4 separate regions of the Homo sapiens genome follow, and regions 2, 3 and 4 are each linked to region 1. The links are contacts of gene promoters, found by promoter capture Hi-C in blood cells and fetal thymus (Javierre and others, 2016). All regions are on one chromosome and are shown on one strand. Each heading gives the region's core, a stretch centred on a gene start or on the middle of the fragment in contact. The rest is flanking DNA. Distances are from core to core; before and after follow the strand shown.

Region 1 (3,840 bases), core at 499-2,998:
TGCTCCTCCTCCTCCTGCTCCTCCTCCTGCTCCTCATCCTCCTTCTCCTCCTGCTCCTCCTTGTCCTCCTCTGCCCTTGATATTCACTTTGACCAGATTACACCAGTACAGAGAGTCCAAAGGTTAAATAGGCACACACTCACACACAAACTCACACTGGGCTAGAACAATGACAGAGCGTCCTGGGGGAGCAGAGTGGGGGCCGGGGGGAGGGGGAAAGGAGGATTGCAGGCCTAACTTTCACAAATCACCTGAAATTTCCACTGAAGGCATTATCTCCAAATGTTGCCACAGAGATAAACTGCCAGGATTACAAGAAAACGTGAAGACGTTCCCATAGAACTCTGTAATGCTTATATCCATCACCAGGAATGTCTGCCCTTGGCGCCCTAAACATAGATTGATTGATTGATTGATTGATTGATTTTGAGGCAGAGTCTCACTCTGTCACCCAGGCTGGAGTGCAGTGGTGCGATCTCAGCTCACTGCAACCTCCTCCTTCCGGGTTCAAGGGATTCTCCCACCTCAGCCTTGGAGTAGTTGGGATTACAGGCTCCTGCCACCACGCCCGGCTAATTTTTGTATTTTTTGTAGAGACTGGGTTTTGCCATGTTGGCTAGGCTGGTCTCAAACTCCTGACCTCAAGCGATCCTCTTGCCTCAGCCTTCCAAAGTGCTGGGATTACAGGCGTGAGCTACGGTGCCTGGCCCTAAATATAGATATTTTTAATAAATCCTCTACTTATCTCACAACGAGCTCAATCGCTTTGCATTAGATCGTTGGGTGTGTTAAAAGTATTCATGTGTTACATTAAATGTGAATTCAACAAAAGCAGAGATTTTTGTGTTTTGTTCTTCATTGTATCCCTTGATTGTAGAAAAGTGGCACATAGTAGGTGCTCAGTTAATCGTTGTTAAATGAAGACATAAATGAAATATAAACCATTAAATGTCCACCATATTTGTAAGCGTTTTGGCATGTCTTCATTGAAAGAATACCAGGCAGCTGGGAGCCATAGTTTACTCCGGTAATCCCAGTGCTTTGGGAGGCTGCAGGTGAGAGGATCGCTTGAGACCAGGAGTTCAAGAGCCACCAGGGCAACATAGAGAGACCTTGTCTCTACAAAAACAAAACAAAACAAAACAAAAAACAAAAAACACAATTCCCTTAAGCCGCCCCTTCCCCTTCCACTGCTCAGAGAAGGCCTTCCAGCAGAGCAGAGCACGAGGTCGCTGGCACACACCCATCCTCCACCAGTCCTGGCCTCTGTAGAGCAAGCCAGCAGAGCAGGCTGTTTCTCTCATTCAGGGACGGTTTAGGGGGTGGCAGGAAAAAATGGTTGCTGATAGGCGAAGGGCCTCCCTGGGTTGGAGAGAACCCCAGCCTCGGATGGTCCCAGCACATTTAAAAGAGAAGCAGTGCCAAAGGTGGGGTGCACTGAAAGCTGCTGGATGAAGGGAAAGATCCTTGTGCTCAGCCCGGAAAACCGGAGGATGGATACCAGGCCGAGGGGTCCCTCCGTGCCCCAAGAGAAAGTTCACCAAGTTTAGATCCCAGTGCCCCGCAGCGGGTGAAGGTGGTCCCGCCCCAGGCCGGATCTGGCCACAGGGCTGGCGGCGCGCTGGAAAACCGCCCACGTGGGAAGAAGCCCTGGCTGCATTTCCGCCCTGGACTGCGCTCCCGCCTGCCAGCGCGGTCCCTGCGCAGCCGCCCCGCGCCCACTAGGTGGCGCCTGCGCTCTAGTGGGCGCTTCACAGGCGCAGCGACAGCGACAGCGACAGCTCGAACCTGAGTCCCAGGATTCCGGGGACTGGAGGGCAGCGCCGGCAGCCAAGGTAGGATTCCTGAGCCCCGGGCGTCTCCCTGGAGCCTCTGAGGTCGGGGTGGACAGCGGGGCGGCCGCTGGGCACCGCTTGCGGTCTGCAGAGATAACCGGAGGAGTCGGGGCGGCAGCACGTGTTGTAGCCGTGGGGGGGACCCAGAGACCCGCAGCCTCGGAGCTGGGCCTAGAGCAAGGCAGAGCACCAGGTCGCTGGCACGCTCGCATCCTCCCCAGCCCTCGCCTCCCAGAGCATGCCCGAATCCCCAAGCCGGGCGTCCTCGAAGCGGAAAGCAGCCACTGTCGCCCAGAGCCACTCCAGGGTGGCAGCCGAGTGCTGATAAGGTCCAGAGCACCACTTCTTAAACTTGTCTGCCCGTTGGCGTTGCTTGGGAAGCATTAAAAAAATACCGATGCCCTAGTTCCACCCCCGCCCCCCCCCAGAGACTCAGATGTGATTGGTCTGGGTGGGGGACTGGACATCTGGGTATTAAAATGTTTGCAAGAGATTCCAGCTGGCAGCCAAATTTGAGGACCCTTGATCTAAGGAGTTGGAGAAAAACGGAGGACATTTGTTTGTTCTAACCCAGAATGCTGATGATTCCCTCCTCCTCCTATTCCTCCAGTTCGCCCTCCTCCTCCTTTCTCATGTGCCTTTTAAGCAGGAAATGCCTCTGCCTTTGTACTGTCAAACCCAAGATAACAAACTAACCATCCCCCACCCCCCACAGTAGGGCTGGTTCTGAAAGGGTTGAACTCGAAAGTGGACAAGGAACAGAAAGACACCAGTGTGGAATGTGAGCGAAGACTCTTAGGGGTTTATGGGTAGGAAGGGGGTTCCTCCCCACCCTGATCCCAGAGAAGATCAGGAGACTGGCTGGAGCTGTCTTCCTCATTTTGGCAAACCTAGCTGATTAGGCAGTGAGAGGCCTTATAACGAGCCTTTTTTACAACTAGTAAAAGGGCCCTTTTACAACTAGTAAAAATGAGCCCTTATGTTTGTTTGTTTTATAGAGATAGGGCCTCACTATATTCCCCAGGATGGTCTCAAACTCCTAGGCTCAAGCCATTCTCCAGCCTCGGCCTCCCAAAGTGCTGGGATTATAGGCATGAGCCGCTGCGCCCCGCTGACCCCTTATGTTTATATAACAGCAGTGTTACTAACATGGGCATAGATTCCCCCCCATAGGCAGCCCTTCCTTTGTGACCTTGGAAACTCACTGAACCATCCTCAGCTTCAGTTTTTGTATCTGCAAAATGGGTGTGAAAATCGGGTTGCCTTGGGAATTATTCACAATAAAAGCTACTGTTTACTAAGGGTTCACCCTATGCTAGAGGCTTTCTGTGCAGGGCCAAGTTAGACTCCTGACCATAACTTCCACGGTAGAACTATGAATACTGCATTTGATAGCCAAGGAAACTGAGGCTCAGAGAGGCCAATGATCTTGCTCGAAGTTATATAATTAATTAATAAGAAGCATGTCCCATATTTGAACCCAGGCAGTCTGCTCTTGAGCTCAGGTGCAAAAGAACAATACTCTGCTGTTTCCCTTGTTGACCAGGACAGCGTGCACGGGGCAGGCGCGTGGTGTGTCTTCACAAACACTAGCTATCACTGCTGTGAGCTGAGCACTTCCACTGAATTGACTCATTCGCTCATTGGAAATACATTTATTATTGAGAGCCTACTGTGGGCCAGGCAGTTTTCCAGATGCTAGAGATAAAATATGAGTAAGACAGAATTCAGCCAGCCCCGAATGAGAGAAACAGGAAGAAAGTGCAGTAGATTCTCATTATTCACAAGTTCTAAATTTGCAAATTCTTCCCTGTAATCCCAGCACTTTGAGAGGCTGAGGCAGGAGGATCGCTTGAGGCTAGGAGTTTCAGATCAGCCTGTGCAACAGAGCAAGGCCCTGTTTGCTTAAAAATTATACACATTGAATAATTCTTAAAAAAAATTTGTTTGTGGCCAGGCATGGTGGCTCATGCATATAATCCCAGTACTTTGGGAAGCTGAGGCA
Region 2 (3,840 bases), core at 575-3,074, 480 kb after region 1:
TTGCAGCAAAGCTCTTGATAATGTTACTCTTGATAAAGTTGCCTGGCCACCCTCTCTAAGTAAATAAAGGGGAGAGGAATATGACGCATATTAATTCACCCAGTTTGCAGCCTACTGGAGGACGAGAGGGGAAAAAAAAGTTGCAATGGGTTCAGCGCGTGGCATTTTATATGAATACCAAAATTGCATTCATGATTCACATAGACTTTACGATAATATATTAATATTAAAACTAAAGGTCATTCCACGTAACAGTTAAGCTGCCTGAGCTTCAACCTTTATACCAATAACAGATTCTAGAAAGTAAGGAAGAAATATTTGAATACTCTAAAAAAAAATTCTTTTTTTTTTAATTTGGAAGGATTGCTGGCTAACGCTAGCACAGGTGGCCCCTCACCCACCTGCCTTCTCCGGGGACAATTAAAGGGCTACCTCTAGGATGGCTGCATCTGAGACAGCTGGTGCTGCTGAGTGAGGAAAGGTGATTAATTGCCACAGGCCTTCAGGCCCTCATTCAGGGCTACATCTCACTAATGATTCCCTTATGAGCTGCGGGAGCGCCTGCCGTCGTCAGAGCTCCACGGAGTCAGCACAAAACTTTACTCAGCTGCTCAGGGAGCTCCGAGCAAATGGCCCAGGACGAGGAAGGCTCTGTCTAGTACGATTTAGGGGGAGATCTGCCTAGAGGCAGGGGGCTGGCCACAATGACCTCTGGAGCTCCCTTCAGGGGGTGGTTTGCTCCGATTCTGTCAGTCAGGCTGGCTCACGCAAAAGATTGTCCTGGGTGGGTAGACAGACCCTGAGAATTTTCCTGGAAGAGGGGCTTGAAGAAGAAAATGGAGACAAGGGCAGTCTACTTGTCCACAATGAGGTTCTGTTCACGCAAAGCAGAGAGCCATTTCCATAGAGTAAGTGAAACCAGTGTGAGAGAAAGCAGTATTTATGCTGGAAAGTTGATCTGGCCCTCAGACTCATGGGCACATTCAGAAGTCTTGCCTACTGAGACTGGGTGGCCAGGGAGCCTAGTGGCTAGAGTCAGCTTGTCCAGGCTCAGAGCCCACTGTGCCTCATTTAAGATAACTCTGCAACCAGTGGCCTCTACAGTAGCTTGAAATTGGTGGGAGTAGTTACACCATGGAAATTGGCCATGGTGGGTGGAGTTACACCACGGAAATTGGCCATAGCAGGAGTATTTACACCATGGAAATTGGCAAGCACTATAAATCAGGACTCCTCAAGCTGATTTAACAGCTTGTTTTTAAACATTTTAACAGCACTCCACTGGCTGACTCAGGGCATAGATACATGGCTATTTTACCTAGAACTGAGTCTTTATGAATGCCAATTTGGTACAAAACAAGAGGGAAGAAAAAGGCTGAACTCACTCCAGCCTATACAATAATACTAACAGCTTCTCTAGGTGATTTTCTACCTCTTTTGGGAAAATAATTCGGGTACTCTGGCTTCTAAGCTCCTCTCTGAGGCAGCGCTGGAGTAAATGAGGTGGGACGTGGGGGTGCTGCTGTAGGTGCCTGGCTCTTGTGGAAGGTGTCCTTGTCTGCTGGTTACTACTGACCTCGCTGGCATCTTAAACAGGTGAACTCATGCTCTGGTCTCCCTCGGCCTGGTCACTCTCTGGGCCTGGCTCAGCCTTGCCCTCCCCCAGCCTTCTGGCCTCATTAGGCCTCCCTCATCTGCTGTGGAGTCTCCTGGCCTGTTCTGAGAGGGAAGTGCCTGGGTTGTGTCCACACCTCGAGGGAGGGGAAGGCAGCTCAGAAAGCCCATGCAGCTCCTCTGCCGGACCACGACTACCCACCCTACTTTGCTCATCCAGTTGGATGGAGAGCGAGCAGGGGATCTATTTCCAGGTTCTTAAGGGGAATTGGGGCAGAGATAACCTCTTCCTTTAGCCTCCTCTTATTCCTTTATCTTACACCTTTCCCAGCCAAGATGTGAAGGAGAGAGGTCAGGACACACATCCAGCTTCACCTCTCGCCCATCTGTCTCTCTCACCTTCCTCCTCCTGCATCTGCCAATGTTTTTCAATGTTTTCATGCTACCAGTCATGACCCATTCCTGGGGGAGTGACTGAAGTCAGGGGGTTATGACCAGCATTAATACAAATTTAAAAAGAATTTTAAAAATGAGAAAATATCACACATAACAAGGCTAAGAATTGTTTTCTAAAATTTGTTTTGTGTACGTGTCTGTGTGCACACACAAATGTCTTGCTGTGGGTCATGGAAAAAATATGTGACAGCCACTCTTCTGCATGATATTCTATCACAGAGCAACAGGCTGAATATCCCAAGGGACACAGGGCTGTCTTCTCCACACGAGAGATCTCCAAGCACTGAGGCTCCCTAGCCTAGCTCTTGACATGCTGAGTACATTTTTCTTTAAAAAAAAAAAAAAAAAAGGAGGAAATCTTCAAGACAAGTCTGGTTTGCCATGCAAAATCCAGTTATGAATGTCAAAACCTGAGCATAATTCTTTCTCTTGCATTTCCACTGTAAACAAGCGTGACCTCTCCCACTCCCCGAAGATGACCAATGCCTCTGGCCAGCTGGGGAGAGGCTCATTTTCAGAAAGGCCAAAGAAAAAAGGCATATATTTGTTCAAACAATGTGTCTTCTTCCATGCTAATGGTGTAAGAGGCTGTTGGGCTGACCCCCCATCTATGGGGCCCTCCTTGCTTCGCCAGCGGTGCATGGGTAGTGATGGACACTGAGCTACATTTTCTCAAGAGGTACTCAGAGCTATACTGATCTGCATCTGAGAAGCCTCCACTGTCCATCCTGTTGCCAATGCCATGAGCCACACTTGGCTTTAATGAGCAAATCTATGTGCGATTGTGCAAAAGCCAAGTTAAGTGGCTCAGAGGTTCCTTCCACCAGGACTAAGCCAGGTTGTTCTTGTAATCACTTTTTGCCACCTCCCCTTCCCTCTAGACTGTTTTAGGAGGGTAGAGAATATGTCTGCTTAACTCATCCTCACCCTCAGTCCTAGCAGAGCATCCAAGGCATTTGGTAGGCGTTCAATGAAGTTGTGTAGAATAAATGAATGTGGGCCAGACGCAGTGGCTCAAGCCTGTAATCCCAGCACTTTGGGAAGCTGAGGCGGGCAGATCACCTGAGGTCAGGAGCTCGAGACCTGGCTGGCCAACATGGCAAAACCCCATGTCTACTAAAAATACAAAAATTATTGGCAGGTGCCTGTAATCCCAGCTACTCGGGGGGCTGAGGCAGGAGAATCGCTTGAACCCAGGAGATGGGGGTTGCAATGAGCAGAGATCATGACACTGCACTCCAGCCTGGGCGACAAGAGCGAGACTCCATCTCAAAAAATAAATAAATAAATAAAAAAGAATAATGTGAATGTGAACTTATGTGGGAGAAGTGGCAAATCTCCTATATTCCTTTAAAGTATTTCTCTAATGCTGGGGTGTCCAATCTTTTGGCTTCCCTGGACCACATTGGAAGAATTGTCTTGGCTCACACATAAAAAATACACTAACACTACCAATAGCTGATGAGCTTTAAAAAAATTCCCCAAAAATCTCATAATGTTTTAAGAAAGTTTACAAATTTGGGTTGGGCCTCATTCAAAGCCGTCCTAGGTCACGTGCAGCCCATGGGTCAAAGGTTGGACAAGCTTGCTCTAATGGGTTCCAGGGAATATTATTAAGTTCGGTGTCTCAACCATGTCACAACAATAAGGCCAAAACACTTCTTGTGTTTTCTTTTACAAATTTGCAAACAGGCAGAAACCTGAGAGACAGATTAGGTGATTTCTGGTGTGCCAATCTTTTCATAAAACGTTATCACACTTTTGTTTGTT
Region 3 (3,840 bases), core at 796-3,295, 430 kb after region 1:
TCCTCTATGTACAGAATAATCAGGAAAAGAAATGACACATTACTAGTATACATTAAAAGTATAATGAAAGATAAAGAACAACGTAATGCCAGCCAGATGTCGTGGCTCATGCCTGTAATCCCAGCACTTTGGGAGACCAAGGCAGAAGGATCCTTGAGCCCAGTAGTTCAAGACCAGCCTGGGCAACATAGCAAGACCTTGTCTCTGAAAAAAAAAAAAAAAAAAAAGCCAGGTGTGGTGGGGTTGGTGAGGTGTGCCTATAGTCCCAGTTACTTGGGAGGCTGAGGTGGGAGGGTTGCTAGAGCCTGCGTGGTCAAGGCTGCAGTGAGCTGTGATGGCACCCCTGCACTCCATCCTGGGCAACAGAGTGAGACCCTGTTTCAAAACTTTAATGCCAATAAATGTGACAATGCACATGAAATAGACAAATTCTTGAAAGATACAAACTAATAAAACTCAAGTAGTAGTCTCAGTAGCCCCTGTATCTACTAAAGAAATTAATTTGTGGTTTAAAAACCTCCTGTCAGAGAAAACTGTAGGCCCAGATGGCTTCATTGGTAAATGCTACCAAACATTTAAGGAAGAAATAATGCCAATTCTATAGAAACTCTCCCAAAAAGTGAAGGTGATAAATGATCTTAGTGTTTGAAGGAAAGCATCTGACAAAATCCAACATTCATTAATGTAAAAACTCTCAAGGAACTTCCTCAGCTTGGTAAACATTTACCAAAAGCATCTACAGATATCATACTTAATGGTGATAGACTGAATGCCTTGCCCCTGTGATCAAGAACAAGGCAACAATGTCCACTCTCACTACCCCTGTTCAACATTGTAACTGGGAGTCCTAGCATGTGCAATAAGACAAGAAAAGCCATACAGCCTGGATTGTCTACATAGGAAAATCACAAAGAATCCACAAAAAGCTACTGGAACTAATAAGGGAGGTTATGTGATCAACATACAAAAATCAAATGTATTTCTATATGCTAGCAGTGAACAATCAGAAGTAAAATAAAAAATTGAATACCATAACATTTTAAAATTACTTAGGGGTAGGTATGATAAAAACTATGCAACACATATATCCTGAAAACTATAGAAGCTTGGTGAGAGAAATTAAAGCCTGAGAAGATACAGAAATGTGTTCATGACATTGAATGAAAATAATACCTTAGTTTCCAATTCATGGAAAATAAAACAGCAGTTTTCTCCCAATTGATCTATAATTTCAAACCAATTTCAGTCAAAATCCAAACAGATTTATGTAAAAAACTGATTCTAAAATTTGTCATTTACAAGGCAAAGAACTCGAATAGCTAAAATAATTCAAAGGTGGAGGATTCACACTAATTATGAAGGTACACAAAATATCTGTATTATAACACCACAGTAATCAAGACAGTAGTGTTGGTGGAAGTATAGACACAGAGATCAATAGAACAGAACAGAGTCCTGAAATAGACAACACATGTATGGTAAACTGATTTTCAACAAAGGTGCAAAGGCAATTTGGTAGAGAAAGGATAGCCTTTTCAACAGATGGTGCTGGAACAATTGGATGTGCATATAACAAAATAATAGTAAACTTGTTCCCATACCCTGCACTATATACAAAAACTAAAAATGAACCACAGACATAAATGTAAAATCTCAAACTACAAAACCTCTAGAAGACAACAGAAAATCTTAGTGAACATGTTTTATGGGAAAATTTTATATACAACATCAAAAGCACAATCCGTAAAATACTGTTAAAATGGATTTTATCAAAATGAATAATTTCTGCTATTTGAGACACTGTTAAGAGAATTAAAAAACCAGCCATAGACTATTAGAAAATCTGTACACGTTCCATATCTGATGAAGCATTTGTATATCTACAGTATCTAAAGAATTCTCAAAATTCAGTAGGAAAACCACCAAATGTAAAAGTGGGCAAAAGATTTGAACACACTTCACCCATTACATGCCTGTTAGAATGGCTAAAATCCAAAAAGTGACAAATCGTAAGTTCTGACAACAATGTGGAACAATTTTACATATTGCTGGTGTGAACGCAAAATGGCATCGCCACTGTGGAAAGTTGTTTCTTAAACATACCATTATACAACCAGCAATCTCATTCCTAGGTATTTACACAAATGAAATGGAAACTTATGTTTAGACAAAATCACGTACATGACTGTTTATAGTGACTTTCTTCCTAATTGCCAAAAAGTGGGAAACAACCCAAACGTCCTTCAGCTGGTGAATGCATATAAATAAGCTGTGGTGCATCCAGACAATCGACTGCTACTTTGCAATAAAAAGGAACTGATATATTCAATGTAGATAAATCTCAAATGCATCAATGCTTAAGTGAAAGACACTGGATTCAGTAGGCTACTTATGATTCCATTTCTGTGACATTGTGGAAAAGGCAAAACTATTGGACAAGAACATCAGTGGTGGTTTGGGATAGGCTGACAAGGGAGTATGAGGGATTTTTTCAGAGGAACAGTTTTATCCGACTGTAGGTATTTCTAGCACAGAATTGGGAGTCTGTCCAGTAAAATGATAGCGATTATTAGACTCTTGGTTGGAGAAAGATTTGTCATCTTGACGTAATAGGTGATAGCTGAAACTTACGGGGAGAATATTACAAAGCAAGAAGGGGGAGAATATTACAAAGCAAGAAGTAGCTTATGTCTAGAACCAATCTATAACGTACTAACATTTAGACTACTATGAGAAAATAATTATCAAATACTATACAAGATCAGTTAAGATGAAGACTGATCATTAGTGATACTTGACAGAGCAGTGTCAGTGCACTGGTATGACTTGTTGAAAAATAAATTATGGTAGCATTGCTTATACACAATTAACAATGTATACAGTAAACAGTGTAAGAAATATTCAAGCAAATGGGAGACTGCAGAGATAGCAAATGCAGACCAGACTCTTAGGAAGGCAGAAAGGGGGCTAGAAAAAGAATTGAAGGAAAGCTTTCTTCAGATGCTTAAGATTTTGTGGCCAGGTGCAGTGGCTCATGCCTGTTCCCAGCACATTAGGAGGCCAAAGCAGGAGGATTGCTTGAGCCCAGGAATTCAAGACCAGCTTGGACAACATAGTGCAACCCCATTTCTATTGTTAATTAAAAAAAAAAAAAAAATGAAAAACACTTGTGAAGGTACATCTGTTGATAATAAAGAACACTGATTTTCATTAAAACCCCCAAAACATTTATTACTTTAAAGAATAAAAATAACAAGTGTCATGATAAAATATGTCTGGGATTTGTTTTAAAATAATCTGGGGAATGGAAGTGAATCAGAGTATAAATCAAACAAGGCTGGCCAAACATGCTGAAGTAGAGGAATAGGTATGTGAGGATGCATTATGCTTCTCTACTTTTGTATGTTTACAATTTCCTATAATAGATATCTGTGAATTTGCTTAGTATGCTTTCTGTAAGCAAACATGGATGAAGCAGCACATGAAAAAGAATTTTAACCAACAAACTAGCAGAAAATAATGTGACAGACGACTTTTAGAGGCTTTGGAGAAACTGAATGCTAAAGGTGCTGTACAGCCAGCCCCAGTCTTTCTGACATTCTGGCAGTGTCTTTCTCAATTGCAGCTCCTCATCTGAGCCACTGTCCAGAAAATAATTTGAGTAACTTTAATCCTCAATTCTCCCAAGGATAGTACCATTCTAGATCTTACTAATTTATTAGCTACAATGGATACCTTAGGGGGGGATTAAGGCCTACTTTTCTAGTGAAATCCCAGTTGAGAATGGCTGCTAAAAACTGAGTAACATTAGACTGAAAAAAAGGGAATATTGTATAAAGT
Region 4 (3,840 bases), core at 672-3,171, 350 kb after region 1:
GGACTAGAGAGAATAGTTATCTTTATTTTTCTTTTGTCGTGCCTTTTTGTGAATCTTGAACGTAATAAAAATATTTCTCATGGGCTGATATGCCTTTTTAATATACACTTTTATTTTAAGTTCAGGGGTACATGTGGAGGTTTGTTACATGCCTATGTAACATGTGTCATGGGGGTTTGTTGTACAGATTATCTCGCCATCCAGGTATTAAGTCTAGTACCCATTAGTTATTTTTTTTTATTCTCTCCATGTATTCTCATCATTTAGCTCCCACCTATAAGTGAGAACATGCAGTGTTTCATTTTCTGTTCCTGTGTTAGTTTGCTAAAGATAATGGGAAGACAACCTAGGCAATACCATTCAGGACGTAGGCACGGGCAAAGATTCATGAAGAAGATGTCAAAAACAATTGCAACAAAAGTACACATTGACAAATGGGATCTAATTAAACTGAAGAGCTTCTGCACAGCAAAAGAAACTATCAACAGAGTAAATAGATAACCTACAGAATGGGAGACAATTTTTGCAAACTATGCATCTAGTGAAGGCCTAATATCCAGCATCTATACGGAACTTCAAACTTACAAAAAAAAAAAAAAACCATCCCATTAAAAAGTGGACAAAGGACATGAACAGATACTTCTCAAAAGAAGAGATGTCTTATGAATTATAAGTGAAAATTCTTTGAGGTACTTCATTTTTTTACTTTCATTCCAAAGCTTGACAGATTTACCACTATAATATCTTGCTTTAGAATAACTTGTGTAATTGCCCATGAAATTCCCAATTTTTTAGTTAACTATATTTAAAAATCCACATAAATATGCATGTAGCAAATGACTTTTTTAGTTATTCAGAAATTCTACAATAATTTTAAATATAACACCATCTCATGGATGTATCGATATAGGATCAGAAATATTTTTGTGTATGTTTCATACATGGTTGAATAAGACTTCATATATCTGAGTACTCCAGGACTTTAATAATTTAATAAGAATGTATAGACATTGTGGCTGTAGGCCATACTTCCCTTTTGTCCACAGTCACTGACACATTTTCTTATAACTTGGGTACAACAGGTTCCCCACCTTTCCTTAAGAACTCTTATCTTTTAGGGGGGTACACAATGATTATTTACTAATTTCTACACTCTTTATAACTTGTTTTTGCTGTTTTGTTGTTTTTACAAGTAGTGTCAGTATGTTTTAAAAACACTAGAGAATGGGAACACACCTGTGTCTCTTGCCCCTCCTTTGATTCATTCATTTAGTCATGCAGTAAATATCTGAGTGCCATCTGTATGACAGGAACCCTTCAGGAAATATAGTTATGAAGCTACACAGGTAAAGCCACCGTCCAGATGAAGCATATTTTCTAATGAGAGACAATAGACAGTAAGCAAGTAAATAAGTGGATATGTGATAGAATTTTTGGTAGTAATAAGTGCAAAGGAGAAAAAGCAGAGTGAAGAGACTGGGTATGGCCAGAGGGGCTTTTTTTTTTTTTTTTGCTAGAGTGTTCTAGGAAGTGCTTTTTAAAGAGATACTTCAGCATAGACCAGAATTAAGTAAATGAAGGAGCCAAGGGAAAATCTAGGAGAAGAGTAAGCAACGTCAGAAGGCCAGAATAGAGGAGAGTGAGCAGCACAAGAGGAAATGAGCATCAAAGTGCATAGACACCGGATCCCTGCAAGCATTTGCATTTTGTTCCAAGTGGTATAGAAATTTTGCCATTACATCTGAGCTCTACATTAAATGATCACATTAGCTGCTGTATGAATAGGCTGCAGGGAGGCAAGAACAGAAGTAAATAAAAACCAATTAAGAAACTATTCTAATTATTCCAGGCAAGTGGTAATTATAGCTTGGTTAAGGATGCGAGTGTCAGAAATAATGAAAAGTGGCAAGATTGGGAATATATATTAAAGTTAGAGCAGATAAGAGTTTTTCATGGCTTGGCTATGCAGGGGTATGGGAAAGTGGAAAGAATTGTAATTTTTAAGTATTTTTGTCTCAGCAGCTAGAAGCTGACATCAACTGAGATGGATAGGACTAAAGGAGGGGAATGTTAGTGAAAATGGATTGCTGTAATCAAGAATTTGTTTGGGAGCATATTAAGCATAAGGTTCCAATTAGAGATTTCAGTGGACATTTTGAGTTTTGGTGGGAATTCAACAATGGAATACAGAGAAGGAATGATAAATTTGGGGTGTGTTCTGTTCATATGCATGCTATCTAACTAATGCCTGTGACTAGATAGAATCACTTATTAACACGAATATGAATAGCAGAAAGATCATTAACAGGAACTAAAGATTAATGTTTTCTTATGTTAGGAGGTTGGGTGAAAGAAGAAGAACAAGCCCAGCAAAGTGCCTGAGAAGGAAGGTATGAAAACTTGGAGAGTATTATATCTGCATCCTGTTTCCCCTGTCCTCTTTCCTTCAAATGAAGGATAAAGACACAGGGATGTCTTTGGCCTATGGATGTCCAGTTGCACCATCACCATTTACTGAAAAGGCTATACTTCTTCTATTGAGTTGCTTTTGCAACTTTGCCATGTCAAGTACTGTCAACAAATTTAAGAGGAAAAGAATTGTCCATTAGATTTCTCAAGGTGGAGGTCACTTGTGACCTTGGCAAAAATGATTTCAGATGAGTTGTGGGGACAAAAATCTTAGAGTAGACTCAAGAGAATTGAGAGATGAGTCATATAATTTTTTCTACAAAGGAAAGTAGGGTAAAAAATTGATAACTTGGATTAATACAGAGAGGTGCATATGTATGTGTGTGTTTGTGCATGCACACCTGTGTGTTTTGGTGGAGATAGTACATATGGCATGCTTGTGAGGTGATTGGAATGGTGCAGGAAGAGAAAAAAATGAAGATGCCAGAGAAAGGGAAACTATTATAGAAACAAAGTATTTGAGTGAGTGGAAGGGGATGAGATCTAGTGCACAAGGAATTATCAAAGGCCTTTAATACATTGTAGCAGCAAAGGTGGCTGAGAATATACATACATACACACAAATAAATATGGATATATATACACACACATATATACGTATATTCCTCATAAAAGACTAAGAAAAGCTGGATGATCTTATCAACAGATGCAGAAAAAGCTTTGAACAAAATTCAACACCACTTGTAATTAAAATATCTAAAGAAACCCACTCAACTACAAATAGACAGGAACTTCCTGAATAAAGTATGTGTATGATGTCTGTGGCTAATGTTAGAATTAATAGCAAGAGACTTAAGTATTTGCCTTCTAAGATTATTAAGAAGTCAAGGCCGGGCGCGGTGGCTGAAGCCTGTAAGCCCAGCACTTTGGGAGGCCGAGGTGGGCGGATCACAAGGTCAGGAGTTCGAGACCAGCCTGACCAACATGGTGAAACCCCGTCTCTACTAAAAAGTACAAAAAATTAGCTGGGTGTGGTGGCAGGTGCCCGTAACCCCAGCTACTCAGGAGGCTGAGGCAGGAGAATCCCTTGAATCTGGGAGGCGGAAGTTGCTGTGAGCTGAGATCGCGCCACTGCACCCCAGCCTGGGCGACAGAGTGAGACTCCGTCTCAAAAAAAAAAAAGAAGTCAAATATGTCCTCTCTAACTCCTCATACTCAACATCATACTGGAAGTCTTAGCCAGGGAAATAAGACAAGAAGAAAAATTATATAGATTGGAAAGGAAGAAGCCAATTTTTATTCACAAATGAAATGATGGTCTATGTAGGAAATTGAAATGAATGTAACTTCTGGACCTAAGTGGGTATATCAAGGTCACTAGATACAAGTATAACATACAAAAGTCAATTGTTGTCATATATAACAAAGAAC

The links. The method cuts DNA at HindIII sites, captures the fragments that hold promoters and counts their contacts. A CHiCAGO score of 5 or more calls a contact.
Region 2: a contact is called between a fragment that was not itself captured here and the fragment with the promoter of CHD9 in region 1, in 1 of 17 cell types (neutrophils). The highest score is 5.2, in neutrophils.
Region 3: a contact is called between a fragment that was not itself captured here and the fragment with the promoter of CHD9 in region 1, in 1 of 17 cell types (neutrophils). The highest score is 5.3, in neutrophils.
Region 4: a fragment that was not itself captured here is called in contact with the fragment with the promoter of CHD9 in region 1 in 1 of 17 cell types (neutrophils); the score reaches 6.3 in neutrophils.

Annotation. Positions count from the first base shown.
Region 1 is chr16:53,053,243-53,057,082 of GRCh38, forward strand. It overlaps CHD9 (chromodomain helicase DNA binding protein 9), which reads left to right and starts at 1,749. Exons shown (of 39, transcript NM_001308319.2): 1 at 1,749-1,835. RefSeq lists enhancers at 2,043-2,574, 2,087-2,136. The HindIII fragment of the contact is 11,983 bases long and covers 1-3,840 here.
Region 2 is chr16:53,529,752-53,533,591 of GRCh38, forward strand. No RefSeq gene overlaps it. Among named protein-coding and RNA genes, the nearest start is that of AKTIP, 28 kb to the left of the region's middle. The HindIII fragment of the contact is 3,655 bases long and covers 1-3,652 here.
Region 3 is chr16:53,485,919-53,489,758 of GRCh38, forward strand. All of the region lies in intron 21 of RBL2 (RB transcriptional corepressor like 2), which reads left to right. Among named protein-coding and RNA genes, the nearest start is that of AKTIP, 15 kb to the right of the region's middle. The HindIII fragment of the contact is 1,885 bases long and covers 1,104-2,988 here.
Region 4 is chr16:53,405,183-53,409,022 of GRCh38, forward strand. No RefSeq gene overlaps it. Among named protein-coding and RNA genes, the nearest start is that of RBL2, 27 kb to the right of the region's middle. The HindIII fragment of the contact is 2,408 bases long and covers 718-3,125 here.